Regions from separate parts of the Homo sapiens genome. Here region 1 is linked to region 2. The links are contacts of gene promoters, found by promoter capture Hi-C in human tissues and cell types (Jung and others, 2019). All regions are on one chromosome and are shown on one strand. The core of a region is centred on a gene start or on the middle of the fragment in contact, and the rest is flanking DNA. Distances in the headings are between cores, read along the strand shown.

Evidence for each region. Contacts are between HindIII fragments. The study calls those that stand out against the background at their distance.
Region 1: a fragment that was not itself captured here is called in contact with the fragment with the promoter of MYO1H in region 2 in 1 of the 25 tissues and cell types used here (H1 embryonic stem cells).

Annotation. Positions count from the first base shown.
Region 1 is chr12:110,749,282-110,754,145 of GRCh38, forward strand. No RefSeq gene overlaps it. Among named protein-coding and RNA genes, the nearest start is that of PPP1CC, 8.8 kb to the left of the region's middle. The HindIII fragment of the contact is 5,871 bases long and covers 1-4,423 here.
Region 2 is chr12:109,344,622-109,349,731 of GRCh38, forward strand. It overlaps MYO1H (myosin IH), which reads left to right and starts at 3,279. Exons shown (of 32, transcript NM_001101421.4): 1 at 3,279-3,351. The coding sequence starts at 3,340. The HindIII fragment of the contact is 9,124 bases long and covers 1-5,110 here.

The sequences.
Region 1 (4,864 bases), core at 238-2,737, 1.4 Mb after region 2:
CAGGCACCTGCCATCATGCCTGGCTAATGTTGGCCTGGCTGGTCTCGAACTCCTGACCTCAGGTGATCCTCCCACCTCGGCCTCCCAAAGTGCTGGGATTACAGGCGTGAACCACCGCGCACAGCCTACATTTTTAAAAGATTTCTTTGGTTTCCGTGAGGAGAATGGACTGTAGGTGAGAAGGAGAGGAAGCTATGAGACTAGAGAGCAGGCTGTTGAAAAATGTGGCTTTAGCCGGGAGCGGTGGCTCATGCCTGTAATCCCAGCACTTTGGGAGGCTGATGCAGGCGGATCACTTGAGGTCAGGAGTTCGAGGCCAGCCTGGCCAACATGGCGAAACTCATCTCTACATCTAATACAAAAATTAGGCGGGCATGGTGGTGGGTGCCTGTAATCCCAGCTACTCCAGAGGCTGAGGCAGGAGAATCTCTTGAACTCAGGAGACGGAGGTTGCAGTGAGCCAAGATTTCAGCACTGCACTCCAGCCTGGGTGACAGAGTGAAATTGTGTAATATATATATGTGTGTGTGTGTATATATATATATACACACATGTATATATGTATGTGTATATATGTGTATATATACACATACATACATATATATGTACATATATACACATATACACACATCTGTATGTATACACATACACACACATCTGTATGTATGTATACACATATATACATATATGTATATATGTATAAAATATAAAGTATACACATGTATAAAGTAAATGTCCATTTTATATATTTATATATATAAATATATGTATTTATGTTTATAAATGTATATATATTTATATTTATAAACGTATATATACTTATAAATGTATATATATTTATACTTATAAATGTATATATATTTATACTTGTAAATGTATATATATTTATACTTGTAAATGTATATATTTATACTTGTAAATGTATATATATTTATACTTGTAAATGTATATATGTGTGTGCGTGTGTGTGTGTGTGTATACATATATTATATATATATGGTGGCTTTACTGATTAGTCTTAGTTTTCTAATCTGCAAAATGGGGACATTATTACCCATCTCAGAATGTGATCGTGAGAATGTATCTTCCAATGTACTTAGGGTGCTAACAGGAATAATGATGACAATAACAGTGATAATAGCTGGCATTTATTGAGTGTTTTCTGTGTGCCAATCTCTATGCTCATGGCCTTTCATGCATGCTCATTTTATTTTATTTTTGAAACGAAGTCTTACTCTGTCACCCAGGGTAGAATGCAGTGGCATGATCTCCGTTCACTGCAACCTCTGCCTCCTGGGTTCAAGCGATTCTCCTGCCTCACCCTCCAGAGTATAGAGTAGCTGGGAGGACAAGCATGCACCACCACACCTGGCTAATATTTTTGTAGGCTGGTCTTGAACTCCTGACCTCAGGTGATCCACCTGCCTCGGCCTCCCAAAATTCTGGGATTACAGGCATGAGCCACCATGCCTGCCCTAATTTTTCTGATTTTTTTTTTTTTTTGTAGAGATAGGGTCTCGCTATGTTGCCCAGGCTGATGTTGAACTCCTGGGCTCAAGCGATCCTCCTGTCTCAGCCTCCCAAAGTGCTGGGATTACAGGCTTGAGCCATTGCGCCCTGCATGCATGCTCATTTTAATCTTCACACTATTTTAGGAGTTAGGTTTCGCCAAGGGAAATAATTTATAACCCAGCTGGGGAGGGCCAGAGCCAGGATTTAAACCCAGGGAATCTGATGTCACACTTCTTCCTCCAAACACAGAAGTTATGTTCTTAGGGATCAGGGAGAGCAGATTCTTTGGGATGTTCCCAGGAGCCTTCTTGGAGCAGGGGGATTTAGATGGGCTGTTCAAAACCTCTTGCACCAGCCTTGGCCTTCACAGAGCCTTCATTGTCGTTGGGTGTGTCTTTCTTTGAGAAGGCCCCAAATACACTTTCATCTGGAATTATCCAACAGTGAAACTAGGATGATTATCGCCTTGCTAAATGTTCCTTAGCATCACAAAATGACTCACTCTGTGGTCGGGAAAGAAACAAGCTATCCCAGCATCTGGAGGGTGGATCGCACTGCCATTTGGAACAAAGTCTGGCAAAGGGAGGCTCACTTTAGAGCAGGGATTGTTGACCTGGGCGCTATTGACGTTTTGGGCTAGATCGTTCTCTGTCGAGCGGGTTCTGTCCTGTGTACTACATGGTGTTTAGCGGCATCCCTGATTTCTACCCACCAGATACAAGTAGCATGCCCCTCTTCTCCAATCATGACAATAAAAGATGTCTTCTGGCCAGTGTGGTGGCTCACACCTGTAATTCCAGCATTTTGGGAGGCCAAGGTGAGAGGATTGCTTCAAGCCCAGGAGTTTGAGACTAGCCTGAACAATGTAGTGAGACCCCATTCCTTAAAAAACATGTTTTGGCTGGGCACGGTGGCTCACGCCTGTAATCGCAGCGCTTTGGGAGTCCAAGGCAGGTGGATCCCTGAGGTCAGGAGTTCGAAACCAGCCTGGCCAACATGGTGAAACCCCATCTCTACTAGAAATACAAAAATTAGCTGGGTGTGGTGGTGGACGCCTGTAGTCCCAGCTACTCAGAAGGCTGAGGCAGGAGAATCACTTGAACCTGAGAGGTGGAGGCTGCAGTGAGCTGAGACAGCACCACTGCACTCCAGCCTGGGTGACAGAGTGAGACTCCATCTCAAAAAAAAAAAAAAAAGAAAAAGAAAAAAACATTGTAATGAACTATTTAGAACTTGGAGCGAAGTATAGATTGGTAATGAAAAAAATGCAATGAACTATTTAAAGCTTAAAGTACTTGCATATAGATACCCCTCTTCACACTCCAGAGATTCCAAATGTTAACATTTGGCCATATTTGACTTAGTTTTTTTTCTTTATTTTTTTTTTAGGTAAGAAAGGAAATGAAGTATTATGGTTGACACTTTTTTTTTTTTTTTTTTTTTTGAGACGGAGTCTTGCTCTGTCGCCCAGGCTGTAGTGCAATGGTGCGATCTTGGCTCACTGTAACCTCCACCTCCCAGGTTCAAGCGATTCTCCTGCCTCAGCCGCCCAAGTAGTTGGGATTACAGGTGCCCACCACACCTGGCTAATTTTTGTATTTTTAGTAGAGACTGGGTTTCGCCATGTTGGTCAGGCTGGTCTTAAACTCCTGACCTCAAGTAATCCACCCACCTTGGCCTCCCAAAGTGCTGGGATTACAGGCGTGAGCCACCATGCCCAGTCTACTCTCTTTGAATCCCATCTCCATCCTATTCGCTTCCCCTTTCCTTCCCCAGAGGTAGCACCAGGCAGCCTAATATTGTTGTGTAGGTGACTATGTTTTCACTAGGTTACAACATCTAATAAACAAACTAACAGTCAACAAGGAAGAAAACCAACAGCCTTAACCCTCAGGGGCAGGTGGAATGAGTTTTCATAAAGCCAGATTTATTTCGTTTAAAAGACCGGCTTTGCTTCTGAGAGCAGGACATTCTGACTTTATTTATATTAAAATGTCCTTCCAAGTAAGAAAGGTGGTAATAGTGAGAGATAGCTATTTTTTAAATGTCCCATTTGGCAAAAAAAAAAAAAAAAAAAAAAAAAATCCAATCATAGGATGACGGAGAAATAACTTGCAGCATGTTTAGGCGGTGATGGAAAGGAAGGAAACTGAGCTACGTGTATCAACATGGATTCATCTCAAAGCTAATATCAATGAAGCAAAAGCCAGCTGGGGGAAGCATTTGGGCTGGATGATGCTACTTACATAAAAGTTTAAAATGGGAAAACAATGTCACATATTTAGGGCAGGGTTTTCAAACTTTTTGGGGGCCGCAATGTGCTTTAAGAAAGATATTTTAGGCGGGGCATGGTGGCTCATGCCTGTAACCCCAGCATTTTGGGAGGCCAAGGCAGGCAGATCATTTGAGGTCAGGAGTTTGATACCAGCCTGGCCAACATGGTGAAAACTGTCTCTATGAAAAATACAAAAAATTAGCTGGCACACACCTGTAATCCCAGCTACTCAGGAAGCTGAGGCAGGAGAATTGCTGGAACCTGGGAGACAGAGGTTGTGGTGAGCCAAGATCCTGGCCACTGCACTCCAGCGTAGGTGACAAAGCTAGACTCTGTCTCAAAAAAAAAAGAAAGGAAAAAAAAAGATTTTAGGCTGGGCACGGTGGCTCATACTTGTAATCCCAGCACTTTGGGAGGCCGAGATGGGAGAATGGCTTGAGGCCAGGAATTTGAGACAGGCTGGTCACAATAGTGAGATTCCATCCCTATTTTTTAAAAAAATAATATGGACCAGGCACGGTGGCTCACGCCTGTAATCCCAGCACTTTGAGAGGCCAAGGTGGGCAGATCACTTGAGGTCAGGAGTTTGAGACCAGCCTGGCCAATATGGTGAAACCCTGTCTCTGCTAAAAAGACAAAAATTAGCTGGGCATGGTGGGCGCCTGTAATCCCAACTATTCGGGAGGCTGAGGCAGGAGAATCTAAAAAAAGACACCTATTTGGAGCCCGGCAACATAGTGAAACCCTGTCTCTAAAAAAAAAAAAAAAAAAAAAAAAATTTGGCTAAAAGTAGTGGCCCACACCTGTAGTCCTAACTACTCAGGAGGCTGAGGCAGGAGGCCTTGAGCCCAGGATGTGGAGGCTGCAGTGAGCTGTGATTGTGCCACTGCACTCCAGCGTGGGCAACTGAGACCCTGTCTCAAACAACAACAACAACAACAAAAAGAATATGTCCATCCATTCACCTGTTGGCAGGCATTTGGGTTATTTCCAGTGTTTGTATTATCTATCATTTTAATGCCTGAGATAGTTTATCAAGAAATAAATATACTGTTTGAGATGGTTTCCAAAAAGAAA
Region 2 (5,110 bases), core at 2,029-4,528:
TTGATAGACTAACTCTAAAATTTTTGGAAATGCAAGGGACCCAGAATGGCCAAAACTATCTTTAAAAAGGGAAATGAAATTGGATGTTTTACATTTCCTGATTTTAAAACTGACTACAAAGCTACAAAGACTGTGAGGTACGGCCATAAAGACAGACATGTAGATCAATGGAATAGAATTAAAAGTTCAGGTGTAAACTACTATGTTTATGGTCAATTGATTTTCGACAAGGGAGCCAAGATGACTCAATGGGGGAAAGAATAATTTTTCAACAAATGATGCTGGAGCGACATGCCACATGCAATGTTATAAAGTTAGATGTCTCCTTCACATAATACACAAAAACTTACTCAAAATGAATTAACTATAAAACTATTAGAAGAAAACACAGGTGTACATCTTTGTGACCTTGAATTATGCAATGGTTTCTTAGACATTATACTTAAAACACAAGAAACCAAAGGTAAAAAAATAGATAAATTAGGCTTCATCAAAGTTTAAGTCTTTTGTGTTTCAAAGGATACTATCAAGAAAGTGAAAAGACAACCTACAGAATGAGAAAATATTTGCAAATCATATACAGTGTCAGATAAAGTTCTAGTATCCAGAATATATAAGGAGCTTCTACAACTCAACAACAAAAAGACAAAGAACCCATCTTGAAAATGGGCGAAGGATTTGCATAGACAGTTCTCCAAAAAAGGTATAGAAATGGCAAATACACATGAAAAGATGCTTAGCATCGTTAGTCATCAGTGAAATGTAAATCAAAACCACAATGAGATACCACTGCACATCAACTAGCTTGGCTAGAATAAAAAAGGTGAACAACAATAACAGGTGTTGGCAAGAATTCGGAGAAAATGGAAACCTCATACATTCTTGGTGGGAATGTAAAATGATGTGGCCAGTTTAGAAAACAGTTTGGCAGGTCCTTAAAAAGTTAAACATAGAGTTAACACGTAACCCAGCAATTCCACTCCTAGGTATATACCCAAGAGAAATGAAAACAAGTCCACACAAAAATTTGCACCTGAATGTTGATAGCATTATTTGCAATAGCCAAAAAGTGGAAAAAACCCAAATGTGCATCAACTGATGGATAAACAAAATGTGGTATATCCATACCAGAGGCATTATGTGGCAATAAAAATGAAGTGTACTGGTTCATGCTAAAACATGGATGAAACTTGAAGACACAATGCTAAGTGAAAGAAGCCAGTCATGAAAGGTCACATATTGTATGACTGTGTTCATATGAAATGTCCATGATAGGCCAAATGTATAGAGACAGCAGATTAGTGGTTTCAAGGTGCTAGGGTGGGGAAAAGGGAGATCATAGATAATGGATATAGGATTTCTTTTGGGGGTCATGAAAATGTTCTTGAATTAAATAGTGATGATGATTGCACAACATTGTGAATCTATAATAGTCCCTCCATATTTATGGGTTCCAATTCCATGAATTCAACCAACCTTGGATCAAAAGTATTCAGGGAAAAATTTTCATCTGTATGAAGATGTACAGACACTTTTTTGTCATTGTTGCCTAGACAATGTAGTATAACAACTATTTACATGGCATTTACATTCTACTAGGTATTATAAGTAATCTGACAATGATTTAAAGTGTACAGGAGGATGTGCATAGGTTATATGCAAATACTATGCCATTTTATATCAGGCAATTGAGCATCCATGGATTTTTGAAGGTCCTGGAACCAATCCCCCACAGATACTGAGGTACAACTGTACTTAAAAAACAATGAACTGTATAAATAAGTGAATGTTATACGTGATTTATATTTCAATTAAAAATATATTTCAGATATGCAAAAATGTATGAAGAATCATATAGGCCAGGCGCGATGGCCCACACCTGTAATTCCAGCACTTTGGGAGGCTGAGGCAGGTGGATCACTTGAAGTCAGGAGTTCGAGACCAGCCTGGTCAACATGGTGAAACCTTATCTCTACTAAAAATACAAAAGTTAGCTGGGCGTTGTGGCGGGTGCCTTGTAATCCCAGCTACTCAGGAGGCTGAGGCAGGAGAATCACTTGAACCTGGGGGGCGGAGGTTGCAGTGAACTGAGATCCTGCCATTGTGCTCCAGCCTGGGCAACAGAGCAAGGCTCCATCTCAAGAAAAAAATAAATTATATTTAAAAACTAAAATATATGTCTATAAAATTATATATTTTTAAAAAACATTTTTAGTATACTATTTCTGGTTGTCCCTTTGTAACCAAATCAAGGATATGTTATATTACCTATTCAGTTACAAAAATGGAATCATTTCTTTAAAAAAGTCAATTGATCAAAAATTAGAGTGTCCAAAGAATTATTAGCATATTTCTGCTCTTGTCAGGGCTTGTGTTAGGGGTTCTCCAATAGGATATATATACAGAGAGAGAGATACATGAAATGGGATTAATAAATGAAATCCTGAGGTCAGTCGCTGGACCCACAGTCCTCCATCCAACAGGGGGTGCTGTTTAGGTTCGAATGAACCCAGCACTGAATCCACTGTCCATACCCTTAGCCATGATCCTGTTGCAGCAGCAGGCTCAAGTTTGGGGGCCCAAGGCATACAATGTGGTGGGTGATGGGTGGGGTTGTCTGAAAGAACAAGAATAGAACTTTATACGATGAGGCCCAGACCAGGAAGGGGTGAACTCTGAGCTTCATGGTAAACCCATCTGTAACTGAACAGCCTCCAATATCAGCAACCTTGTGATTTTTTATGAGATGATAGTGCCCCTGCATCACTTCAGCATCTGAAAATAATAATAAAATGAAAGTAAAGTCCTGAGTCTCCGTATTATGAAACCTTGAAGTTACCCAATCAACTTGATTCCATGAAATTTAAGGCTGTAAAGTTTTTCAAACAGAGCCAACAGGTACTTCCAGCAGGAGTTCCCTGGAGCTGGATCCTAGGCTAAGAGATTGGGAGAATTTTCTTTTCTTTTTTTTTTCTTTTTTTCTTTTTTTTTAAGCATAGCTCACCGAGGGTCCTGCCATTATTTCAATAGTCAGTGACTGGTCAGGAACATAAGCAACTAATCAAAGATCAGCAGTGTCTGTAACGTAAACTCAAGGGAGGTTGGGTTTCCAGTTCTTATCTCCCTGGAGCAGCCCGGTGTGCCTACATGTAGACGGCCATAAGATGCAGTTTCTGCCTCCCACCGTAAATTATTAACTTAGCTCCACCCCGCAAGCTAGAATCGCCTCATACCTTGTTGCTGGATGTCAGGCATCACAGAATCATAAGTCAGTGGGAAGCAACTTTTGAATGGCTCAAGAGGAATAGTTGTTAACAACCTGCTCTCCCTCTGTGCGTGATGGAATCCAAGGTAATGTGACTTGAACACTAGAAGGTGGTTACACCTGGTGACCTCTTTTCTACCAAGAACTTTCCAAATGGCTATAATGCTGGGCCTCTGCTAGGCCTGGAGAGAGAACTGGGCGTGTGAATAAGATTCTGAATTTATTTGATGAAAAATTCTATGTTAAGATGATCATGTAGATATCTCCCTTCTGTTGCTGGGGGCAAGTACGATGATTTAGAACCAAAGCATGGGAGAGTTACCGATTCATTTCACATTGGTCTAGAACAGCGTGCTGTGCAATAAAGACAGAAATGGTCTCTGTTAGCACTGCCTAATGCAAGAGCTCTTGGCTATGTGTGACTACTGAGTGGTTAAACTGTGGCTGGTTCCTGGGGAACTGAATTGTAAATTTGACTGAATTTTCATTAATTTAAATAGCCACATGTGGCTAGTGGCTACTGTGTTAGCATGGTTGGGTCTTAAATAATAGATGGTGACCTCATGTTGAAGGAAATTGTAGGTAATAATTGGCCTTACATGTAAGACTATTGGTACATTTTCTTCATTACCCTAGATACCTTGTGTTTCCTTTTAAATGCGATAAGCCCAACTTGTCCCAGGTAATGATCATTTTAAGAAGCTAAGACAGCTGTTTTTATTATCAGGTAGACAATGGTAAAGCTCTCCTGGGAAGATGGAAGACAGAACTTGAGTGTCAAACCTATTGCCTCTTTCCAGGAGTTAATTCTAAGCATAAAGACTTCCAAGGACAGGTTTTCTGGGTTTCGATAGCATAATCATCTCATGTGTTCTCTGTTTAGAAAACATTATCTGCTGAAGGATTGTTTCTTTTCTTGCCTAGACAGCCAAAAAGCTTACAGAAACATTTATGGATGTAGTTAGAATAATTTCGTAGCTGTTCACAGAAGCCTCAGGCACCATGAAGAAACCCTAGCTACAGCTTGTCATTGATCCATTCAGTCAATTACCCATTTCTATAGCACTGAATACTGTCACCTTGGCAACTGGTAACTCAAAATGGCACTGTCCTTGACCGAAAATGTATCTGAATGCCCATAACAAAGTCCTGGTTTTAGATGCCATTCTTGCATGATATCTCAAAGTGGTAACTCTAGGAAGCATGATTCATTGGGAGAAAATAATTTAGTTGATGGACAGAGAGGAGTATTTGCTGTAGGTCTTGCAGTGAAAGACAACAGATAGGTCTGTCCTCAAGGTCGCATGTGCCTTTTTTTAAATTGTCATGGCTTTACAAAATGCACGTAGAAGTAACCATGCAGATTGACTTATACATAGTTACACTTTTTTGAAAAATGGAGGAAGCTCTTCCTTCTTATGAATTAATTCCCAGATTCCTTTGGTAAAACATTATTTGGATAGAGTTTACTCCAGATTAAAAAAGAACAAACTGGGCTGGGCATGGTGGCTTGTGCCTATAATCCTAGCACTTTGGAAGGCCAAGGTGGGAGGATCCCTTGAGACTAGGAGCTTGAGACCAGCATGAGCAACATAGTGTGACCCCCCCACCAAAAAAATTAAAAAGTAGCTAGATATGGTGGCACATGCCTGTGGTCCCAGCTACTCCAGAGGCTAAAGTGGGAGGATCACTTGAGCTAGGGTGATCAAGGCTGCAGTGAACTGTGATCATGCCATGCACTCAGCCTGGATGACAGTCTGAAACCCTGTCTCAAAAAAAAAAAAAAAAAAGAGGCCGGGTGCGGTGGCTCATGCCTGTAATCCCAGCACTTTGGGAGGCCGAGGC